Linked DNA regions of Homo sapiens: region 2 is linked to region 1. Evidence: promoter capture Hi-C in 16 types of primary human blood cells and fetal thymus (Javierre and others, 2016). All regions are on one chromosome and are shown on one strand. Each heading gives the region's core, a stretch centred on a gene start or on the middle of the fragment in contact. The rest is flanking DNA. Distances are from core to core; before and after follow the strand shown. Region 1 holds the start of FPR1 (formyl peptide receptor 1). Region 2 overlaps MIMT1 (MER1 repeat containing imprinted transcript 1).

The links. The method cuts DNA at HindIII sites, captures the fragments that hold promoters and counts their contacts. A CHiCAGO score of 5 or more calls a contact.
Region 2: a contact is called between a fragment that was not itself captured here and the fragment with the promoter of FPR1 in region 1, in 1 of 17 cell types (activated CD4 T cells). The highest score is 6.1, in activated CD4 T cells.

The regions. Positions count from the first base shown.
Region 1 is chr19:51,748,879-51,753,844 of GRCh38, reverse strand. It overlaps FPR1 (formyl peptide receptor 1), which reads left to right and starts at 1,967. Exons shown (of 2, transcript NM_002029.4): 1 at 1,967-2,031. The HindIII fragment of the contact is 1,877 bases long and covers 897-2,773 here.
Region 2 is chr19:56,845,556-56,850,521 of GRCh38, reverse strand. MIMT1 (MER1 repeat containing imprinted transcript 1) reads right to left here. Exons shown (of 2, transcript NR_024059.2): 2 at 1,966-2,570. Among named protein-coding and RNA genes, the nearest start is that of MIMT1, 7.1 kb to the right of the region's middle. The HindIII fragment of the contact is 1,439 bases long and covers 1,243-2,681 here.

The DNA of each region.
Region 1 (4,966 bases), core at 718-3,217:
TTGTTATGATCCCAAGAAAATGTTTATAAAATACAAACACAAATGTTTATAAAGTACAAATGAACATATCACCCTTCTGATTAAAGATCTTCAGTGATTCTCCATCTCATCCCCATCCTCCTGGTGTGGGATGCTGGAGTGTAGCAGTCCCCAACATTTTTGGCACCAGGGACCAGTTTCATAAAAAACAATTTCTCCATGGGGTGGCGGGGTAGATGGTTTCAGGATGATTTAAGCACATTGCATTTATTGTAGACTTTATTTCTATTATTATTATTACATTGTAATACACAATGAAATAATTATACAACTCACAATGATGTAGAATCCGTGGGAGCCCTGAGCTTGCTTTCCCGCAACTAGACAGTCCCATCTGGGAGTGATGGGAGACAGTGACAGATCATCAGGCATTAGATTCTCATAAGGAGCACACAACCCAGATCCCTGGCATGCACAGTTCACAGTAGGGTTCACACTGTTATGAGAATCTAATGCCGCCACTAATCTGACAGGAGGCAGAGCTCAGGCAGTAATGCCAGCAATGGGGAGTGGCTATAAATACAGATGAAGCTTCTCTTGCTCACCTGCCAGTCACCTGCTGTGCAGCCCACTTCCTAACAGGCCACAGACCGGTATCGGTCTGTGTATTGGTCTATGGCCTGGAGGTTGGGGACCCCTGCTGTAATGTGAAGTCAGGAGCTGTGGTAGCTTTCTTGGAGCCATGAAGTGGCAATCCCCAGGAAAAAAAGTCACCATATTAGGGATAAAAAAGAGAAAAGATTAAAATGAATGTAGTTCTTGATGATATTTTCCAGATATAACCTAACCTAGTATTACCCTCTTGCAAAATTCTTGTAAAGTAAACCATAAATTTCGTCTTGGTTCTAAGCTAAGCTTGTCCAGCCCATGGCCTAAGATGGCTTTGAATGCAGCCCAACACAAATTCATAAACTTTCTTAAAACATTATCAGATTTTTGGGGGATTTTTTTTTTTTTTTTTTTTTTTAGCTCATCAGGTATCGTTAGTGTTAGTGTATTTTATGTGTGGCCCAAGACAATTCTTCTTCTTCCAGTGTGGCCCAGGGAAGGCAAAAGATTGGACACCCCTTGTTGAAGCCATTGTTAGGTGTAATTGTAAATTATAAATTACTTAGAATTAAAAACAGCCCGGCTCATGCCTGTAATCCCAGCATTTGGGGAGGCTGAGGCAGGAGGATCACTAAACCCAGGGGTCTGAGACATGCCTGGGCAACGTAGCAGGATACTGTCTCTAAAAGAAAAGAAAAAACAGTCTTAATGCAACAATGCCTTGGTAATAATGCTTTTAGAATCAGTGTCGTTATCTCTGATTCTGTAACTGTCTTACCATATTTCTCCATATCACTCTGATACCCTTGGAAGGATGCTTAACATTTCAGAAAAACGGTTATTTCTTTGGGCTAGAAGACTACAAATGAGCTTCCACAAGATCAGAGGATTATGGGGTTAATCTTGGTGGTGTGCATGGGTGTGGACGCGCTGTCCTGCCAACTGTCTCAACTTCCCCCACTCCCTTACCTCTCTCTGTGTTTCTGGTCTCCATCCCTCATGACTTCTTCTCTTCCTTTCATTGCCTCCCTCTGATTCTTCTCACCACAGTGCTTGCTGCTTTCTTTACCTTGACCCTTGGAGGGAGCAGGGGCCCGGACACTTGGATTTCTTGGCCCTTGTTGTTGAGAGCACTGAACCTCTGCATCCCACAGAGACTGAGGCTGAGAAATACAGTCAGGTACATGAGTTTCTAAACAGGCCCAGCCCACTGTCCTAATGCCATTAAAGCAGACAGTATATTGGTGTATTCTTGGGGCCATCAAAAATCAGAAGAAGCTCAGACTTCCTATTTCCTGCTACCCAGCTGGTTTTAGTTCCTTTACCCCTCCTCCTGTTCCTTGGTGTATGTTTTGCTGCAATCATTAGAGCCTGAGTCACTCTCCCCAGGAGACCCAGACCTAGAACTACCCAGAGCAAGACCACAGCTGGTGAACAGTCCAGGTAAGAAACATATTCTGGGGGACTGGGTAGCTTGACATAGACACACTTAATACACTGGTGAACACAATAGACTCTTTGTTTGAAGAAGGATGTGGAGTTGAAGAATAATTTTTTTAAAGAGGTTCTAAACAGGCCGGGCACGGTGACTCATGCTTGTAATCCCAGCACTTTGGGAGGCCAAGGCAGGTGGATAACTTGAGGTCAGGAGTTCGAGACCAGCCTGGCCAACATGTTGAAACCTCACTTCTATTAAAAATACAAAAATTAGCCAGGCGTGGTGGTGGGCGTCTGTAATTCAAGCTACTTGGGAGGCTGAGGCAGGAGAATTGCTTGAATCTGGGAGGTGGAGGTTGCAGTGAGCTCAGATTGCACCACTGTACTCCAGCCTAGGTGACAGAGTGAGACTCCATCTCAAATAAATAAGTAAATAAATAAATAAACAAATAGGCTCTAGACTTTATTGGGGTCCTGATGGGAATGATGGAATATAGAGACACTATGAGGCTGCAGGAGAGAGAAGGGATAAGTGAAGGAGGGAAGTTCTTGAGTAAATGGGGGAATGAGTTTTATGGGACCAGTAGAGGGTAATTCTTGGATGGAAACACTTGTTTTCTGGTTACAGAGATGAGGGCAGAGAACAGTGATGCAGGAGCCAGCAGGAGGAGAATCTGGTGGAGCAAGAGGCAAGGGCATCAGCTTGAGGGCTTGAGTCGGGATGGGAAAGGATGTTTGGTTTGAAGCTTTCAGGAGAAAGCAAAAGAGCCCTAACGACTTTATGATGGGTCATGGGGAAATGAGTGTAATACAGAAGCAGTCACCTTTCGGATCAGTGATGAGTCTCCACGTGAAGACACTGGTTCTGCATGGTGCATAGGACCCAGTAGCGGAATACAGCCCTGCCCTCTCATGAATCTGCAGACATTGGCTGTCATTTCTCATCAAGCTCCTAGTTTCCTCTTCCGTCACACAGGGATGATGATGTATAATCAATGCTGAGTTTGTTGAGATCAGAGGCAAGAAAGTTGAGGATGTGGTACAATGATTATCAAGCATAAAGTCCTTCATCGATGGCAGCCACCAAGGCCTGTGTTCATTGCAAATCACAGGATTTTTCCCTTGAACCATAATTGGACAAAATTGCACAGGTTTTCCTCTCTGGTATGTTCCAGCTCATTATTGCAGAATCCTCATCATTCATTGCAACAATCTTCTGAACTGGTTGCCTTAGAGATTCTTGAGGACAAAGAGTCCTCAGGGTATTTTGGTGGTTGGATGGGTGGTAGGGGAGGGAGACATCTCTGAGTTGTTTCTGAGATTGTAGAGTATCAAAGTTCATTAGAAATGTGAGACACATATGTAATTTCAAAGTGTCAAGTAGGCACTTTAAAAAGGTGAAGAGAAACATGCGAACTTAATTTTAATAAAATATCTAACCTAAACTTAAATAGCCAAATTATTATCATTTTAACATGTAGTCAATATAAAAACTATTAATGAGATGGTCACAATATTTTTTTCATACTAAGTCTTTGAAATCTGATGGGTATTTTACTCCTACAGCCTGTCTCCAGTTGGACTAGCCACAATTCAAGTGCTTGAAAACCACATGTGGTGAGTGACTAGTGCATTAGACAGCTCTTCTGTGCCAGTAGCGTGGCAGGGCAGAGGCAGAAAGAGACTTTTGCTGGAATTCGACAGCCTGGGCTGTTGGGTGACTTTAAGGAATTAACTGAAATGCTCTAAGTCGCACTTTCCTCGTCTGCAAAATGGGTACCATAAAGACAGTGACCCTCATAGTAACAATTTTGAGGAAGGCTGCTGCAAGCATTAGAAGAGAAGACCAGGCCGGGCGCAGTGGCTCACACCTGTAATCCTAGCACTTTGGGAGGCTGAGGCAGGTGGACTGCCTGAGCTCAAGAGTTTGAGACCAGCCTGGGCAACATGGTGAAACCCCATGTCTACTAAAATACAATTAAAAAGAAAAATTAGCCAGGCACGGCGGCGTGCACCTGAAATCCCAGCTACTCAGGAGGCTGAGACAGGAGAATTGCTTGAACCTGGGAGGCGGAGGTTGCAGTGAGCTCAGATCACGCCACTGCACTCCAGCCTGGGTGATAGAGAGAGACTCCATCTCAAAATAAATAAATAAATAAAATAAAATAAATTAAAAAAAAGAGAGAAGGCCAGCTCTCAGCAAGAACCTGACATGCACTTTGCATACCTGATCTAATGAAATGTCATATCCAATACATATTTGGACTATTATTTCTATCACGGTCTTCTACATCCCCAAGAGTGCTGAGCCCATCCAATGGATGGAGAAGCACCTCCCATCCATCTGGCCAAGGTAACCGCAGAGACGAGAGTGGAAACAGAGTCTGTTGTTCTGACTTCTTCTAGCACAGAATCCATTGGATATAATACTTGATTATACGTCGTTTAGTATCACTCACGGATCCATTTGACCTATGTTGGAAAACTAACCAAGTACTATGCCTTGCTTCCCACGATGAGAGAGGAAAGGGAGATTTCATGACCTTAAAGAGAGAGAGCGAGCAGAATTTGGAGTGGAGAAGTTGCATATCTTTTTTTTTTTTTTGAAACGGAGTCTCGCTCTGTCGCCCAGGCTGGAGTGCAATGGCGCAGTCTCTGCTCACTGCAACCTCCGCCTCCCACGTTCAAGTGATTCTCCTGCCTCAGCCTCTGGAGTAGCTGGGACTAAAAGCACCCACCGCCATGCCTGGCTAATTTTTGTATTTTTAGTAGAGATGGGGCTTCTCCATGTTGGCCAGGCTGGTCTCGAACTGCTAACCTCATGATCCACCCGCCTCGGCCTCCCAAGGTACTGGGATTACAGGCGTGAGCCACTGCGCCTGGCTGAGAAGTTGCATACCTTATAGTTCTTATGCAGTGTTATGGGTGAGAGAAAGTCTTA
Region 2 (4,966 bases), core at 713-3,212, 5.1 Mb before region 1:
ATGGTTCAACATACACAAATAAGTAAATGTGATACACCACATTAACAAAATTAAGCATAGAAAATGTGATAATTTCAATTGATGCAGAAAAAGCATCTGACAAAATTTAACTTCCTTTCATGATAAAAACTCAACAAATTATGTATAGAAGGCACATACCTCGAAATATTAAAGGTCATATATGACAGGCCCACAGCTAACATCACTATCAGTGGTAGAAGACAGAAAGGTTTTCCTTTAAGATCAGGAGCAAGATAAGGAAAAACGAAAGGCATACAAATTCGAACAGAAGAAGTGAAATTGTCTCTGCTGATGATGTGGTCTTATATATAGAAGACCCTAAAGATGCCACCAAAAACTTGTTAAACTAATAAACAAATTCAGTAAAGTTGCAGTAAAAACCAATATTGTTTCCAGGTACTACTACCATCTGAAAAAGAAATCAAGAAAACAATTCCATTTACAGTACCATCAAATTATTACAGTACCATCAAATTATTTAAGAATAAATTTAACCAGAATTTATAATATATATAATATAATAAAATAAAATTAACCTGTTCACTGAAAACTATAAGACTTTGATGAAAGAAGTTGAAGACACAAATAGAAAAATATCTGGTGTTCATGGATTAGAAACTATTGTTAAAATCTCCATACTACCCAAAGTGATGTGTAGATTCAGCGCAATTTCCATAAAAAAATTCCAGTGTCATTTTTCACAGAAATAGAAAAATACTCCTAAAACTCATAAGAAACCACAGAATACCCCAAATAACCAAACTTTCAGCAAAAAGAACAAAGCTGGAAAGGCATCACACTACCTGATTTCAAAATTGAGTATAAAGCTACAGTAATAAAAACAGCATGATACTGGCATAAAACCAGACATAGAGACCAATAGAACAAAATAGCCCAGAAATAGATCCCGTAATTTATAGTCAGTCAATCTTTGACAAAAGTGTCAAGAACACACAACAGGGAAAGGACTTTTTTTTAAATAAGTGGGTGGGGAAAACTAGATATCCATATATGAAGGAATGAAATTAGACACACCATATTACAAAATCAACTCAAAATGGATTAAAGACTTAAGAGCTGAAACTGTGAAACTAATGGGAGAAAACGTAACGGAAGAAACTTCTTGTCATTGGTCTGACCAATGATTTTTGGATAAGACTTTAAAAGCACAGGCAGAAAAAGCAAAAATAGACAAAAGGGATTGAATCAAACTAAAAAGCTTCAAGTGTTGGCAAAGATATGGAGAAAGGGAACCTGTGTACATTGTTGGTGGGAACGTAAATTAATATAGCCATTATGGAAAACAGTATGGAAATTCATTTAAAAAAAGTAAAACTACCGTATGACCCAGCAATCTCACTTCTGGCTACATATCTAAACAAAATCAGTATACACTTCTATGTTCATTGCAGCATTATTCACATTAGCCAAGATGTGGAATCAACCTAATTGTCCATGGATTGATGAATGGATAAATAAAATGAATATATGTACAATGGCATACTTTTCCAGCCTTTAAAAAGAAGGAAATGCTGTCACTTATGACAACATGGATAAACCTGGAGGACATTACGGTAAGACAAACACTGCATGATCTCATTTATATTTGGAATCTAAAAAAGTTGAACTCATACAAGTAGAGAGTAGAATGGTGGTTGTCAGGGGTCAGAGGAGATGAGCTGATGTTGGCCAAAGGGTGCAAAATTTCGGTTAGATGGGATTAAAAAGTCCTGGTGATCTGTTGCACAGTATGGTGACTATAGTTTATACTTGAAAATTGCTAACAGAGTAGATCTTAAGTGTTCTTCACACACAAAAATAGTGAGGTGATAGATATGTTAATTAGCTTGATATCCTTTTACAATGTATATGTATATTGAAACACCATGTTGTACACTATATATACAATTTTTACTTATCAATTATATCTTAAGAAAAAATTAAGCCATTTGAAATGTGTATTTTATTTAAAATAATGGTAGTAAACCTATTACAGGTTAATGGAAGCAACATTTTTTATGAAAAATAACAATTTTCAAAACCAAAGGTTATTGAGAAGAGGCGCATTATTTTACATCTTTGTAAATCTCCTTGGCATTTGACTTAATAGAAAACAGCTGGATTCGCATCTGCTTTGGCCTTCAATTTGTCATGATATCACAGGTCATACAGCCTCAGGCAAACGTCACTCCACACTTGCGAAAGAAGTGAAAACTGTTGTAGTTCACAGAAGATAATACTTTTGATTGAGATGGTGCTATGATGCTATGAGTTTGTGAGTTCACAATTTAACCTCCTTTTAATATAAACTTGCAATAATAGGAATATTTAAGATATCCATATGGGTCAAAACTTGAAAGAAAAATGCAAGGATATGTGGAATTGAAAACATAAACCTTCTGAACTAATGATCTTGAAAAAGGCAGAGGAAATTAAAAATCTGACTGCTCTTGGGTAATGAGGTCCGGAAGCACTCCATGCATGTTGAGGTCCCAGGCTCATTGTGGCAAACAGGTACTGGATTTGGACTCTCCTGACATAAAAGGAGCCTGGAAAAACAACAACAACAACAAACAGTGATGGATACCCAGGTTTTTTACTTACGAGTGGTGGCAGGGGGTGAAAAAACAAAGCCATGCAGAGAGGACCCAGCCTAAGCTTTAATCTTGCTCAGTGACTAATACACCCCTTTTGTCACATGGCACAAAATCCCCAGTTGACAATACAAGATTGTCTCTGGACTGTGCTTCTCATGGGTGAGGTAGAGACAGCCAAAAAGACATGGAGGGAAGAAAAGTTCAGAGAGGAGGGGAAAAGATAACCCATAGGAAAAACACTTAGAAACTAAACTTGCAAAGCACTGGGTTAAAGTTAGGAAATCTTAAAATGAACAAGACAGCAAAACTAGCAATCAAGACATGAATTCAGTCCTTTCAAAATGCAATTCAAATAGTGTTAGTGTGACTTTACGATTTTTGAAGAAATAAAGAATAGTGTCCATAAAATGTTCATCCATTTGAGAAAGGTAGATATAAAAAAAGTACCAATTGGAAATCATAGAACAGAAAACATAGTTACTGTATTTAAAACATCTAGGGAAATGCTATTACCAGATGCAGTTAAAAAGAGAAGTTACTCAGAAAGCACAGAAAACAGTATGAAAAACAGAAAGATTGAGACAAATGGAGGATGGATTAAGACGGGTCATTATACTTTATAGGTTGAAAAGAGTAGAAATGGAATGGCAGAAAAGTTCTATTTAAAGAAACACTGGCCCAAGAATTCTCCAGAATGGAAGAAAGACCTTCATTGGTCACATCAATCCTGAGCAGGATAAACAAAAATCTATACATAACATCTATTCTGAAAGCTACCGCGGGAAAAACTAGACGTTATTAGAAAGGAACATTACGCTGATGCAGACCTCCTCATCAGGTTTGTTAGAAGACAATGGAATAATATCTTCAAAATAAGGAGAGAAGATAAAGGTTACCTAAGAATTCCATACCTGGCTAAAATGTCATTCAAAAATGTCTCATAAAGACATTTTTAGAAATACAAATAGACTACCTTATACACTTATTTAAAGACACATTTAAGGATTTATTGCAATGAGAAAAAGTAAACCTCGAGGGACGAGGAGTGAGATTCAAGAAACAAGAATGAGTGAATAAATTCTTGAAATACCAGTAAATATAATTAATCATTGACTGTAAAAATGTTTTCATTTGTTTAAAACAGGTATAATTAAAATTCTAGACAATATTAATGAAGGTGGGAATGGGAAATCCAGTGAATTGCTAACGTGTGCCAACATGTTTGCTTTAGTACTTTATAGTCTGTTAAAAAAATATATGCTTATGTAGAAATTAGGAACTTAAAGATAGACAGTGAAGTAATAAATATAATTGAAACCTCCCAAATAAGCAGAAGGAAGAAAGGGGACTAAAGAAAACTTGATCAATTTAGTAGAATGCAGGAAAGGAGAAAATAAATGACCAAAAGCATATTAAACAAATACATCAATAATTAAAAATGTAAGCAGATTAACTTCCCTGTGTTTCTCAACAAAGAGTCATGGCCTTGTTTGCACCTAAAAACATAGCCTTGAAATATATATATATAAAGCAAAAACTATTAATTATAAGGAGTGGTGGATAAAACCATAGGAATATTGGGAGATTTTATTATATCTAGAACAGATAGATCAGGCAGACAAAAAATTACCAAGAATACTAAAAATCTGAACACAGTTAACAAGTTGATCCTATGAACATAAATAGAAATTGATACCTAACAATTAGACAATACTCATTCTTTTCTAATATATTGAACAATTAAAATTAACCATATCTTAAGATCACCAAGGATGCTTTGACAAATGTGAAATAGTAGCATATGGGCCATGCTATATGAGTATAATGCAATTAATTTGGAAATCTGTATTCAAAAGATAGTTTTTTTCCCCAAGATCTTTGACCCCTAAAGACGTTTCTTCATGTCGCAAAGAGGAAATCTAATGGAAACAATGAAATACAGAACTGAACAAGAAAGAACTACAAAAAGAACAGAAATTAATTACATGGAAAAGAAGGAAGAATATGGTCAACAAAATCAAGTCATTTTAAAAAGACAAAACTGTCAAATCTTTAGCAAAACTGATGGAGAAACATGGAGAGATTAATAATATTAGTAATAGAAAAAGGGACATAATTTCCAATGGAGAGGAGTTTATAAACTATGGTAGAGAATATAAGAAGTGAGATAACAATCCAAATCATTCTATAAGGCTGTTACAACCTTGGTAGCAAAACCAGACAAGGATAGTGTAATAAAAAAGTATAACTCAGTAGTACCCAGCTGCATGTGTATACGAATCAGATACACATAATCATGATCAAGCAGGGTTTAGGAATACAGTTTTCAACATAAAACCTGCTTTATT